Regions from separate parts of the Homo sapiens genome. Here region 2 is linked to region 1. Evidence: promoter capture Hi-C in human tissues and cell types (Jung and others, 2019). All regions are on one chromosome and are shown on one strand. Each heading gives the region's core, a stretch centred on a gene start or on the middle of the fragment in contact. The rest is flanking DNA. Distances are from core to core; before and after follow the strand shown. Region 1 holds the start of CRYGN (crystallin gamma N). Region 2 overlaps PRKAG2 (protein kinase AMP-activated non-catalytic subunit gamma 2).

Region 1 (5,525 bases), core at 1,175-3,674:
TTTAAATGGAAAATGCAGCTAGATTTTTGGCTCCGAAACTTAAAGTGGTTTATTGATACCTGTATGAAAACTCAGGGCCACTCCCACTCAGTTCATAGCAACTTGGCCCCCCACCTACTCACCTCATGCCAGCAGGTGGCTCTGGGTATAGCTCCTTCAGTCTTACAGACTTTAAAGCCGGGAGGACCACGCTCCCCGATTCCTTGCCACTGTCTGCCAGGGCTGACCCTCGGTCCCTCCAGCAGGAAGACTCAGCCTTCGGTGGACGGGCCCACTCACCATTCCTACAGGCCGACAGGAGCCCATGTGGTCACTGTGGCTGTTCCAGCGGAAGAAGTCGGGGTAGTCGCCGTGCTCCAAGATGAACTGCTGGCCCCGGAAGTCGGGGTGATTGAAGCAGACCCAGGCTCCGCTCTCCACGTGGATGGAGTTCACTCGGTTCATAAAGCCCCGGTCCTGGAAGTTGTCACAGTCCCCGAAGACCTCCAGCTTCTGCCCTGTGAAGTGCTTGCCTTCATAGAGAGTGATCTAGAAAGGGCAGGTTACAGAGCTCAGGGTCAGGGGCTTCTCTCCGTCAGCGTTGGAGGCTGGCGTCTGGGTCCCAACACCCTGGATGGAACCCCTACTCCCAGGCCCCCAAAAGCCCAGACCTGCTGCACACAGTAGGTGCCCAACACTATTTGCCAATTGGGCAAAAGAACGAACAGCTGGCAGGCTGATGCCATACACAGCTACTGTTCCTCCCCACCCTTAGGAGCTCACAGTGGGGCAGACAAATTTCAGCAGCGATTTGGGGACAGGGGTTTCCCCTTTGTCTAGGTGCCCATTTCAAAATGGGCTGTTTTCAACTTCCACTGCATTTTTAACTCATTTTTTAATTATTAAAACATAAAGCCGATAATAACATTAAAGGAGGTGTTTTCAAAAGAAGAAATTTCACCCACAACCCTCTCATGGTAACCCAGCATATATTTTGCAGAAATTCGGGTTCCTGGGATTGGGCCTCCTTCACTGGAGAGGCTGAATGGGCCGAAGCCGCGTCAGGGCCTGGCTCGGGATTAATGTTCGCAAAAGAGGGCTTATAAGTGCCACCCTGTCTCTCTGTGTTTTGTAGGTCACTCCTTTGGGTAGCAGGCATGTATCAGATCTGGAGCTCCATCACCCTGCTGGGAGTTCAGACATCGTGTCTTATAGCTACGTGGCACTCACAGGTTGTCCTTGTCCCGAAACAAAACAAAGTGAAGCAATAACAACCCGCCAGACTCATTTCCTGCTGTGGAACCTAAAATCTCAACCATTTAGTAACTCTTTGGGTTTCAAGAACTGTGGCCCTAGAAGGGTCCTGCCAGAGTGCAGTGATGTTCCCCATCACTATGGTCGCTTGTGCCTCACCAGTGTCTCCAGTTCGCTCAAAAGAACACGAGAATTGCCCTTCCAGGCCCCTTGGAGTCAGGCGTGGCCACATGCGTTCACCGGAAAGGAGGCAGACACCTTGGCGTTCTGCACCCCAGAGTTACTGGGGCCCTTTGTTACTGAAGCATCACCTGGCCCATGCAGACTGATACAGCAACACAGTCACCCCCAGACACTCTGGAATGTGGCCTTGGAGACCAAAGGCTTCATGGGAGTGGCTAGGCTAGGGGCACTGGAGAGGGCGAGGGAGAGCCAGGTCTCCCGTCCTTCCTGCACCAGGCACGGCTGGTAGAGGGCCCCTGAAACCTTCAGGGAGGTCTGGGCACCAAAGGGATTCGGGGCTCCCTCAAATCTCAACATTTTTCAGAGAACCAGCCCTAAGTGTCCCTGAAGAGACCCTGGGAAGGAAAAGCCATAGAGGCCAGCCTTGGGCAAAGAAGCCGCAGCAGTGGGGCGGAGGGCTGTGGGACAAGCCAAGCCTCCCCCACCCCAAGGAAGCCCCAGGGAGTCTGAACACCCTCCCTGCTCCTGACTGCAGGGCGAGGGGTTGGAATCCCAGAAGGAAGGAGTGGAGATGGAGACCTTCCTATCCATCCACACCAGAGAGGCCCCAGGCCAGTAGCGAGGCCACCCCATTTTATTAAGAAATTAAACCAGCTTCCCTTGGATTTGTCACCATCAACAGTGTGCACCCTCCTGCATCCCCTAGCACAGGGGGCGAAGGCGGAGCCCCACTCGGTTTCCTTGGGGTTGAGGGACGCACTCACCTTCCCCGAGCGCTGCGCCATGGTGCGCCCCGCCCCTTCCGCGGGTCCCCGTTTACACCGGGCAGCGCCCTGCTGGCTCAGCGCCGCCCCGGACAAAAGATTTGCTGGGCCGGCCCCGGAGCGTTAGTGCTGTCGGGCGTGCTAAGCCCGAGGGGCCACCAGGCGGTTGGGACCCGCCGCGGCCACCCTGTGCCACCGCGAGTGCAGCCCGCCCTGCCCGGGGTCTCCCTGTGCTCTCCGCGTTTAGCTCCCGAGCCTCCTTCCTCCCTGAGCCCTCCCGCCCAGCCCGCGGCTGCCCCTGCCCTGCCCTGGAGTGGTGGGGGGAGGAGGGGAGGTGTCTCTCTAGCCCTCCAACCTTTCTTCCCCTGCGCTGCCCCTCAGCCCTCACGCCCATCTCCCTCCCTCCCAAGGCCTGTTCCGAGCTCCCCAGCCCACTCCCCTTTCTCACCTGGCTGCAGGTAGTCTCGCCTTGGTGCCAACTTGTTTGTCTCCACGAGGATGCAACCCAAGCTTCCCCGGACAGACAGACAGCCCTTGACCGCCCCTCCCCTGGCTGCTCTGGTCTGAGCTCCCAGGTCCCCACCTTAGACCTCCGGCTCCAACTCACCCAGCTCCTGATGCACCCCCCCACACCCCACAAAACGCCAGGCCAGGTCAGGCCTCCCTCCTCCCGCTCTCTTCCTGCCTGCCTCCCTCCCTGGCACTCTCCCTCCCTGGGTCCCTCTCTCCTTGAAGATCCTGCCTAGGGTGACCAGGTGACCCGCGCTGCCCTGAGCTGGGGGTACAGTGCTCTGCCCCTTGCCTCTCTGCTGCACCAACTAAGCCACCCTGGACGCCCAGGATCAGTTTACAGCACAAAGCAGCCCCACCGCGGAGGGAGAGTTCCCCAGGGCCCAGAACGAGCACTTGGCAGACAGCAGAGGCTCAGAGATTGTGGAGTGAGCAGAGCGAACATGGAGCCCACAGGATGTGCAGCCCCCACACGGCTGGGGAGATGAGCTGGGAACACAGGACTCATGACTCAGATGGCTGGGGTGGTGGGGGACAGGCTCTGAGATCAAAGGAGAGAGGGGCAGGTGCTCCACAGGGGCTTCTGCTGGAGGGGAGGGAGGAGCTTTGGGGAGGAGTTTGGGCTGCTCTTCCTTCAAACAGTATATTTTTATGACCATTTCACAGATGAGACACTGAGGCCCAGGAAGAGGAGGTTATGTGATTCTTGGGGCAGAGGGGTGACCTTGCCTCTGCTGTGGGAGGTTTTCAAAAGTAGACAGGGTACAAACCAGAACCTGCATGTCACCCTTGAACCCAGGGACGGTCCTCCCTAGGGACGCCCCTCCCTAGGGACGCCGCCCAGCTGCCTCCACTGGCGCCCTTACTTGCCAAGCCACACATTCCAATGTTTCTCTCTGGACCTGGGCCCTGGTGGGGACATAAAATTAAAAACAAAATCTCCAGCCAACCCAGAAAACTTCTCCACGAAGGTAGAAGGAAAAAAAAACAATTTTATTATTGAATAAACTTTAAACTGGAATGCGATCTGCATCACGATCTCTCCCCTAAGAGATCGCAAAGATGGAGAGAGATCTCACTCTTCTGTAGCCAAGCAGACACAACCCACTGCATTCATGTTTTCAGGATAAAATTGCTGATTTTCTTGTATCTCTATGACTGGAGGTGGGTTTTGCAATTTGGAGTCAGGTGACAGCTGAAGTCAGGCTTCTTAGGAAACGGGGAGGGTGGGGGCACTTACTCCTTGATGTCAAGACTCAAAGAGGCTCCCAGAGGAAACATGACTGAGTTGTTAGACTGGCAAGAGGCTTGTTTAGCCATTAAAAAGATTTACACACATTTGAAAATGACAGAGAAGGAAATTCTGCAAGAAAAGGGAGGAAAGGGAAGCCTCTTCCCTTATTTTCAACAGGGAAAAATAAGCCTTAAAAAAAGGTTTTATTTTTTAGAGCAGCTTTAGGTTCAAGTTGAATTCAGCAAAAGGTACAGCAATTTCCTGTATACCCCCTGCCCCTACACACACACACACACACACACACACACACACACACACACACACAGAGCCTCCTCCACAATCAGCGCCCCCATTAGAGTGGTACATTTGTCACAGCCGATGAACCTATGTTATACATCGGGATACAGGATGAGAAGTTGAGAGAATGCGGCGTAGACTTTGTTAAAATAACACATTTTTAAAGCCTCCCCACATAATGTGGTTGATTTTTCACAGCTTGCTACTCTTTGTCCAGTTGAGTATGTAAGTGTTTGACTCTTAACTTTTTCTTTGGGTCTTCATCTCCTTATAAGGGCTCCCATGCCACATAAAACTTGTATTAAATAAGTTTGTATGCTTTTCTCTTGTTAATCTGTCTTAGGTCAATTTATTTCTCAGGCCCAGCCAGGACCCTAAGAGGATGGAGGTAGAACTTTGCTGCCTCTACAGTGTAATGCCATGGTTCCACCATTAGAGCACCAGGTAGAGTATTCTCACCACCTTAAAAGTCCCCTGTGTGGGCTGGGCACGGCGGCTCACACCTGTAATCCCAGCACTTTGGGAGGCCGGGGCGGGTGGATCACCTAAGGTCAGGAGTTTGAGACCAGCCTGGCCAACAGGGCGAAACCCTGTCTCTACTAAAAATACAAAAACTAGCCAGGCGTGGTGGCAGGCGCCTGTAATCCTAGCTACTCAGGAGGCTGAGGCAGTGAGAATTGCTTGAACCTGGAAGGTGGAGGTTGTAGTGAGCCAAGATTGCGCCACTGCACTCCAGCCTGGACGACAGAGTTAAACTCCGTCTCAAAAAAAAAAAAAAAAAGATAAAAAAAAAAGTCCCCTGGGCTCCATCTGTTTATCCCTCTCTCCCCCTTAACTCCTGGCAACCACTGATCTTTTTACTATCTTCACGGTTTTGCCTTTTTCAGGATGTCATGTATTTGGAATCTTACAGTATGTAGCTACTACGGTTTGAACGTGTCCCCCAAAACACATGTGTTGGAAACTTAATCCCCAATGCAACAATGTTGAAAGATGCGGTCTCATGGGAAGGGTTTAGGTCATGAGGGCTTCACCCTCATTCATGGATTAACGCTGACCATAAAGGGCTACAAGGTCAACCGCTTGCTCTCTCTCACCCTCTCTTTGCCCTTCTCCCATGGGATGATACAGCAAGAAGGCCCTTGAAAGATGCCAGCACCGTGATGTTAGACTTCTCAGCCTCCAGAACTGTGAGCCAGTACATTTGTGTTCATTGTAAATTACCCAGTCTGTGGTATTCTGTTATAGCGGCACAAAACGGACTAAGACAGCAAGTAGCTTTCTCAGATTGGTTTCTTCCACTT
Region 2 (5,371 bases), core at 568-3,067, 170 kb after region 1:
ACTTGCTGACCTAGTCCTATCACCTGTGTAGCTGGCTCTACCCCGGAGGCTGCCAACACCACCTTTATCTCATGCTCCACATTTTAATATGTCAACATACACAGGGACTGCTGCTTACTTTCCAGACTATAAGAACCTTAGTGTGGCTCACATCTGTAATCCCAGCACTTTCGGAGGCCGAGGTGGGCGGAACACGAGGTCAGGAGATCGAGACCATCCTGGCTAACACGGTGAAACCCCGTCTCTACTAAAAATACAAAACCAAAATTATCCGGGCATGGTGGCGGGTGCCTGTAGTCCCAGCTACTTGGGAGACTGAGACGGGAGAATGGCGTCAACCTGGGAGGCGGAGCTTGCAGCAAGCCGAGATTGCGCCACTGCACTCCAGCCTGGGCGACAGAGCGAGTCTTCATTTCAAAACAAACAAACAAACATTTTAGTGTGGGCTGGGCGCGGTGGCTTACGGCTGTAATCCCAGCACTTTGGGAGACCGAGGCAGGCGGATCACGAGGTCAAAAGATTGAGACCATCCTGACCAACATGGTGAAACCCTGTGTCAACTGAAAATACAAAAATTAGCTGGGCGTGGTGGTGCGCACCTGTAGTCTCAGCTACTCTGGAGGCTGAGGCAGGAGAATTGCTTGAACCCAGGAGGCAGAAGTTGCAGTGAACTGATATCGCGCCACTGCACTCCAGCCTGGGGGACAGAGCGAGACTCCATCTCAAAAACAAAAAACAAAAAACAAAGCCTTAGTGTGTTAGCATATTATAAATATTTTTTCTTTTCTTTTTTTTTTTTTTTTTTTGAGATGGAGTCTTGCTCTGTCACCCAGGCTGCAGTGCAGTGGTGCAATTTTGCCTTCTCCTGGGAGTGGTGCAACCTCCATCTCCTGGGTTTAAGTGATTCTCCTGCCTTAGCTTCCTGAGTAGCTGGGATTTCAGGCGCCCACCCCCATGCCTAACTAATTTTTGTACTTTTTTTGGTAGAGATGGGGTTTCACCATGTTGGCCAGGCTGGTTTTGAACCTCTGACCGCAGGTGATCCGTCCACCTTGGCCTCCCAAAGTGCTGGGATTACAGGCGTGAGCCACCACACCCAGCCAATATTTTCAATTCAAAGTTGAGAAAATGGCCACAGGGAGCTCTAAATAAGTCATTTTTTATATTCTCTGCTTTTAAGTCAAAAGAAGGAACAGAGAAGAGATGCGTGCAGGGTGGGAGCAGAGCACACTGGGGTCAGAATGCCAAGGAGGACTTCCCCATCTGGAACCCACACACAGAGAGCAGCGGAGTGCTGATCGATGGTTACACCCCTCGGCATCTTCCTCTCTGTATTCTATACCCATTATGCGAAGATTTTGTCCACAGAACCACCTTCGTTTACTAAGCAATGCTTGCTGCGGTTTCAAAGGTGCTCAGATCCAGGGCGGTGCAGCGCTTGCCAGAGGCCGCCCTGTTCCAGGATCCGTTCCTCAGCTTCATGCTTAATTTTGTAACCATCAGTCTTCTAGGGACTTGGTGATTCAAGTGAAATAAATCAGTAAGTGATGAGGAAACTGAAATATCAATTAAGTGGTAAAGAGATGGAGGCCAGGTTAGTGAGCACAGACTGAGAAAGGAATGATCTGATCCATGAGTGAGGCGTGGATCCAGCAGAGCCGAGCCCACCCCATCCCACCAGGACAAGTGGCAGGAACCGCAGGGAAAGCTGGAAACACAACAGCTTTCTTAGAAAAGACGTTGGCGCACTTACGTGGGGTGGTCCAGATCTCACACTCATCATCTCAGACAACATTAAGATGGTAAAAAAGCAGTCTCGGGCCGGGCACGGTGGCCCATACCTGTAATCCCAGCACTTTGGGAGGACGAGGCGGGCAGATTACTTGAGGTCAGGAGTTCGAGACCAGTCAGGCCAACATGAAACCTCAGCTAAGATACAAAAATTAGCTGGACGTGGTGGTGCACACCTGTGGTCCCAGCTACTCGAGAGACTGAGGCTTGAGAATGTCTTGAACCTGGGAGGCGGAGGATGCAGTGAGCTGAGATTGTGTCACCGCACTCCAGCCTGGACGACACAGTGAGACTCCGTCAGCACCAATGTGTTACTCCCTTCAGCACTTTCTGTGCTCCCTTTTGTGGGAGGACAGCGACACCAGCATCACTAAAGGAGCTGAATTAAATGCAGTGCTTTTGACTTTGGACTTACATGCAGAGAGAAAGAGGAGAGTTGAGTAACATGCTCAGCCTGTCTCTCCCCAGGATGCCCATCCTCTGCTGAACCTGCCCGCAGGTTTGGGAGCCGCTGAGTGCACTGCAGAGTGAGCGTCAGCTACCACAGTCCCTTCTTGCAGGGTGTTCCTAGTTTAATCCTTATCTGTACTTGTGAAATGGAAGGTTTATGCCTTGCTAGAGAGCTTTTAGGTATAAGGCTTGTCAACTCTAAAATCACACTGCAGAGACCTGCAGTGTGCCTCTCCCCTACTGACCCACACAGGTAGGGGACAGAGTTGGAGGCCCCAAGCACAGAGCCCTGCCTAGGCAAGACACTGCCACTGCTGCTCACTGTGAAGCAACCTGGGGAACCCCCTGCTTCCACCTGTTCTGTCCCATCAGCAGGCGTAGGGGCTGCTGCCATGGTCTGGTTCTGCCCCCCATCACTCCAACTCTGTGCACTGCCTGGCGGTTGTCACCAGTCCAGGGGTCTGACCAGCGTACCCACCTCTGCCTGCTCACCTTCATAGTGCACAGCCCCATTTCTAAGATGATGCTCAGCGAGTGACCGTCTATGGGACCATTCCCAAAGGCACAGGTGCATGGGGAACCCCAAGAAATAGTGCAATAACCTGAAGCTGTTACCAGCCCTAGACCTGGGGTGAGGAACAGTTACAAAACCTGGAAGGAGAGAGTTTCAGGTAGAGCCAGTCCCCTTGGGTGGGGCAGCGACCTTCATTCGAGCAGTCCAGCCAGGTAGCGGCAGCCTCCCAGGATGAGGGAGCTACAGGAGTAACCACCTGCCTCCTCTGGGGGCTCCTCACTGGCTAAGCTCAACAGGACCCCAGAATACGGGAGCCCAGCCGATGTGTCCCACACTCAGCCTCCCTGGTGAGAAAGACAGGTGAGGCAGGGTGAAAATGGGACCTGGGGGCAAACAGGAGCTACCTGCGGCACTCTAAGACTGGGCAGATGGAAGAAAGACAGTTGGGGTTGACGCAGTATCTTCTACAATAACGCCTGAAATAACTTAAACTTTGTTTTCAGAAATTATTATTTGTAATAGCAATAAAAGGCATGAACATGTTTTCCAAAAATAACAACAGTGATATACACAGGTTGAGCATCCCAAATCTGAAAACCTGAAATCTGAAATGCTCCAAAATCCAAATTTTTTTGAGCATCCATACTACACTCAAGGGAAAAGCTCATCAGAGCATTTCAGATTTTGGATTTTTGAATTAGGAATGCTCAACTGGTATGTATGATGCAAATACTCAAAAATCTGAAAAAATACTAAATCTGAAACATTCCCAGTCCCGAGCATTTTGGTTTTTATTTTATATATGTTTGAGATGGAGTCTCGTTCTGTCACCCAGGCTGGAGTGCAGTGGTAGGATCTAGGCTCACTGCAACCTCTGGCTTCTGGGTTCAAGTGATTCTCCTGACTCAGCCTCCCAAGCAGCTGGGATTACAGGCACCCACCACCACGCCTGGCTAATTTTTGTATTTTTAGTAGTGATGGGGTTTCGCCACGTTGGTCAGGCTGGTCTTGAACTCCTGACCTCAGGTGATCTGCCCAGCTTGGCCTCCCAAAGTGCTTACAGGTGTGAGCCACTGTGCCCGGCAGCAGTCCCAAGCATTTTTTTTTTTTTTTTGAGATGGAGTCTCGCTCTGTTGCCCAGGCTGGAGTGCAGTGGACGATCTCGGCTCACTGCAACCTCTATCTCCCGGGTTCAAGCGATTCTCCTGCCTCAGCCTCCCAAGTAGCTGGGATTACAGGCGCACACCACCACCCCTGGCTAAGTTTCATATTTTTGGTAGAGACAGGCTTTCGCTATGTTGGTCAGGCTGGTCTCGAACTTCTGACCTCAGGTGATCCACCTTACCTCCAACTCAGACACCCCCGCTCCAGTGACCAACTCTCTGGTCTCACTGGAGCCGACCAGGAGGTGCCCCGTTCCCACGGCTATGCTGAGCGCCCCAGCCAGCACTCCAACACGGCCTGTCAGGGGAGGTGACGCTGTCTCCAGCTGTGTCTTGAAGGCAGGAAAAGGGATTCCAGGCAGAGGCCTGAGCCCCTCAGATCTGAGGGTATCCTCAGGAGCTCGCAGGGGACATGGGGCAGGGGCTGGCACCCCATGGCGATGGGGGAGCAGCAGCAGGGTGGCAGGGAGGCCATGGGGTCGGTTACGTTGGGCGCTTGGCATGTGCTCTGTACTACTTTATCCTGGAGGTGACCAGAAGCCACACAGGGGCTCACACAGGAGGCTGAAAAAATCAGGGCTGCGTGGACGCTCAGTCAGAGGAGAAAAGAGGCAGAGCAGTCAGTGGACGTCTCTGAGACCCTGCTCCCTCCATCGTGACTCTCCGTCCCATCCCTGCGTGCTCTCCTTCACCTCCGCCCCTCACCAGCTTGCTTCCCGCTCTCTCTCCCCATCTCCACTTGACCTTGTGGTGGTTCACTCCACTCCACTGCCTTTCTTTCAGAGCAAACAGCTCGCAGTGATGATCTGTGGCCCTAAGCCCACTTTGCCAGGACCGCTCCAGTTCAGCACCATGGAATGGGACTCCACCTGGGCCTTCTGAGTCCCCATCACCAGCAACCACCTGGCACTAATCACAATGGCTTTTCTGCAAACTCCTTGCCGACCACTGATCACTTGGCACTGGGCTCTCAGCCCCAGTCTCCTCACCTTTACACTGGAACAAAAGAGCCTCAAAGGGGCCATGTGGATCCAGAGGGAACCTCGAGAGAGGAGCCGTGTGGATCTAGAGGGAACCTCGAGAGAGGAGCCGTATGGATCCAGAGGGAACCTCGAGAGAGGAGCCGTGTGGATCCAGAGGGAACCCCGAGACAGAAGCCGTGTGGATCCAGAGGGAACCTCGAGACAGAAGCCGTGTGGATCCAGAGGGAACCCCCAGAGAGGAGCTGTGCAGATCCAGAGAGAACCCCGAGAAAGGAGCTGTTTTTTGTTCCTGCATTAGTTTGCTAAAGACAATGGCTTCCAGCTCCACCCATGTTCCTGGAAAGGGCATGATCTCATTCTTTTTTATGCCTATATAGTATTCCATGGTGTATATGTACCACATTTTCTTTATCCAATCCACCACTGATGGGCATTTAGTTTGATTCCATGTCTTTGCTATTGTGAATAGT

What was found. Contacts are between HindIII fragments. The study calls those that stand out against the background at their distance.
Region 2: a contact is called between a fragment that was not itself captured here and the fragment with the promoter of CRYGN in region 1, in 2 of the 25 tissues and cell types used here (liver and spleen).

What each region holds. Positions count from the first base shown.
Region 1 is chr7:151,437,717-151,443,241 of GRCh38, forward strand. CRYGN (crystallin gamma N) reads right to left here and starts at 2,425. Exons shown (of 4, transcript NM_144727.3): 1 at 2,181-2,425; 2 at 280-528. The coding sequence starts at 2,201. RefSeq lists enhancers at 1-842, 1,204-1,704, 1,705-2,205, 2,917-3,453. The HindIII fragment of the contact is 10,973 bases long and covers 1-5,525 here.
Region 2 is chr7:151,609,953-151,615,323 of GRCh38, forward strand. All of the region lies in intron 5 of PRKAG2 (protein kinase AMP-activated non-catalytic subunit gamma 2), which reads right to left. Among named protein-coding and RNA genes, the nearest start is that of RHEB, 93 kb to the left of the region's middle. The HindIII fragment of the contact is 8,202 bases long and covers 1-5,371 here.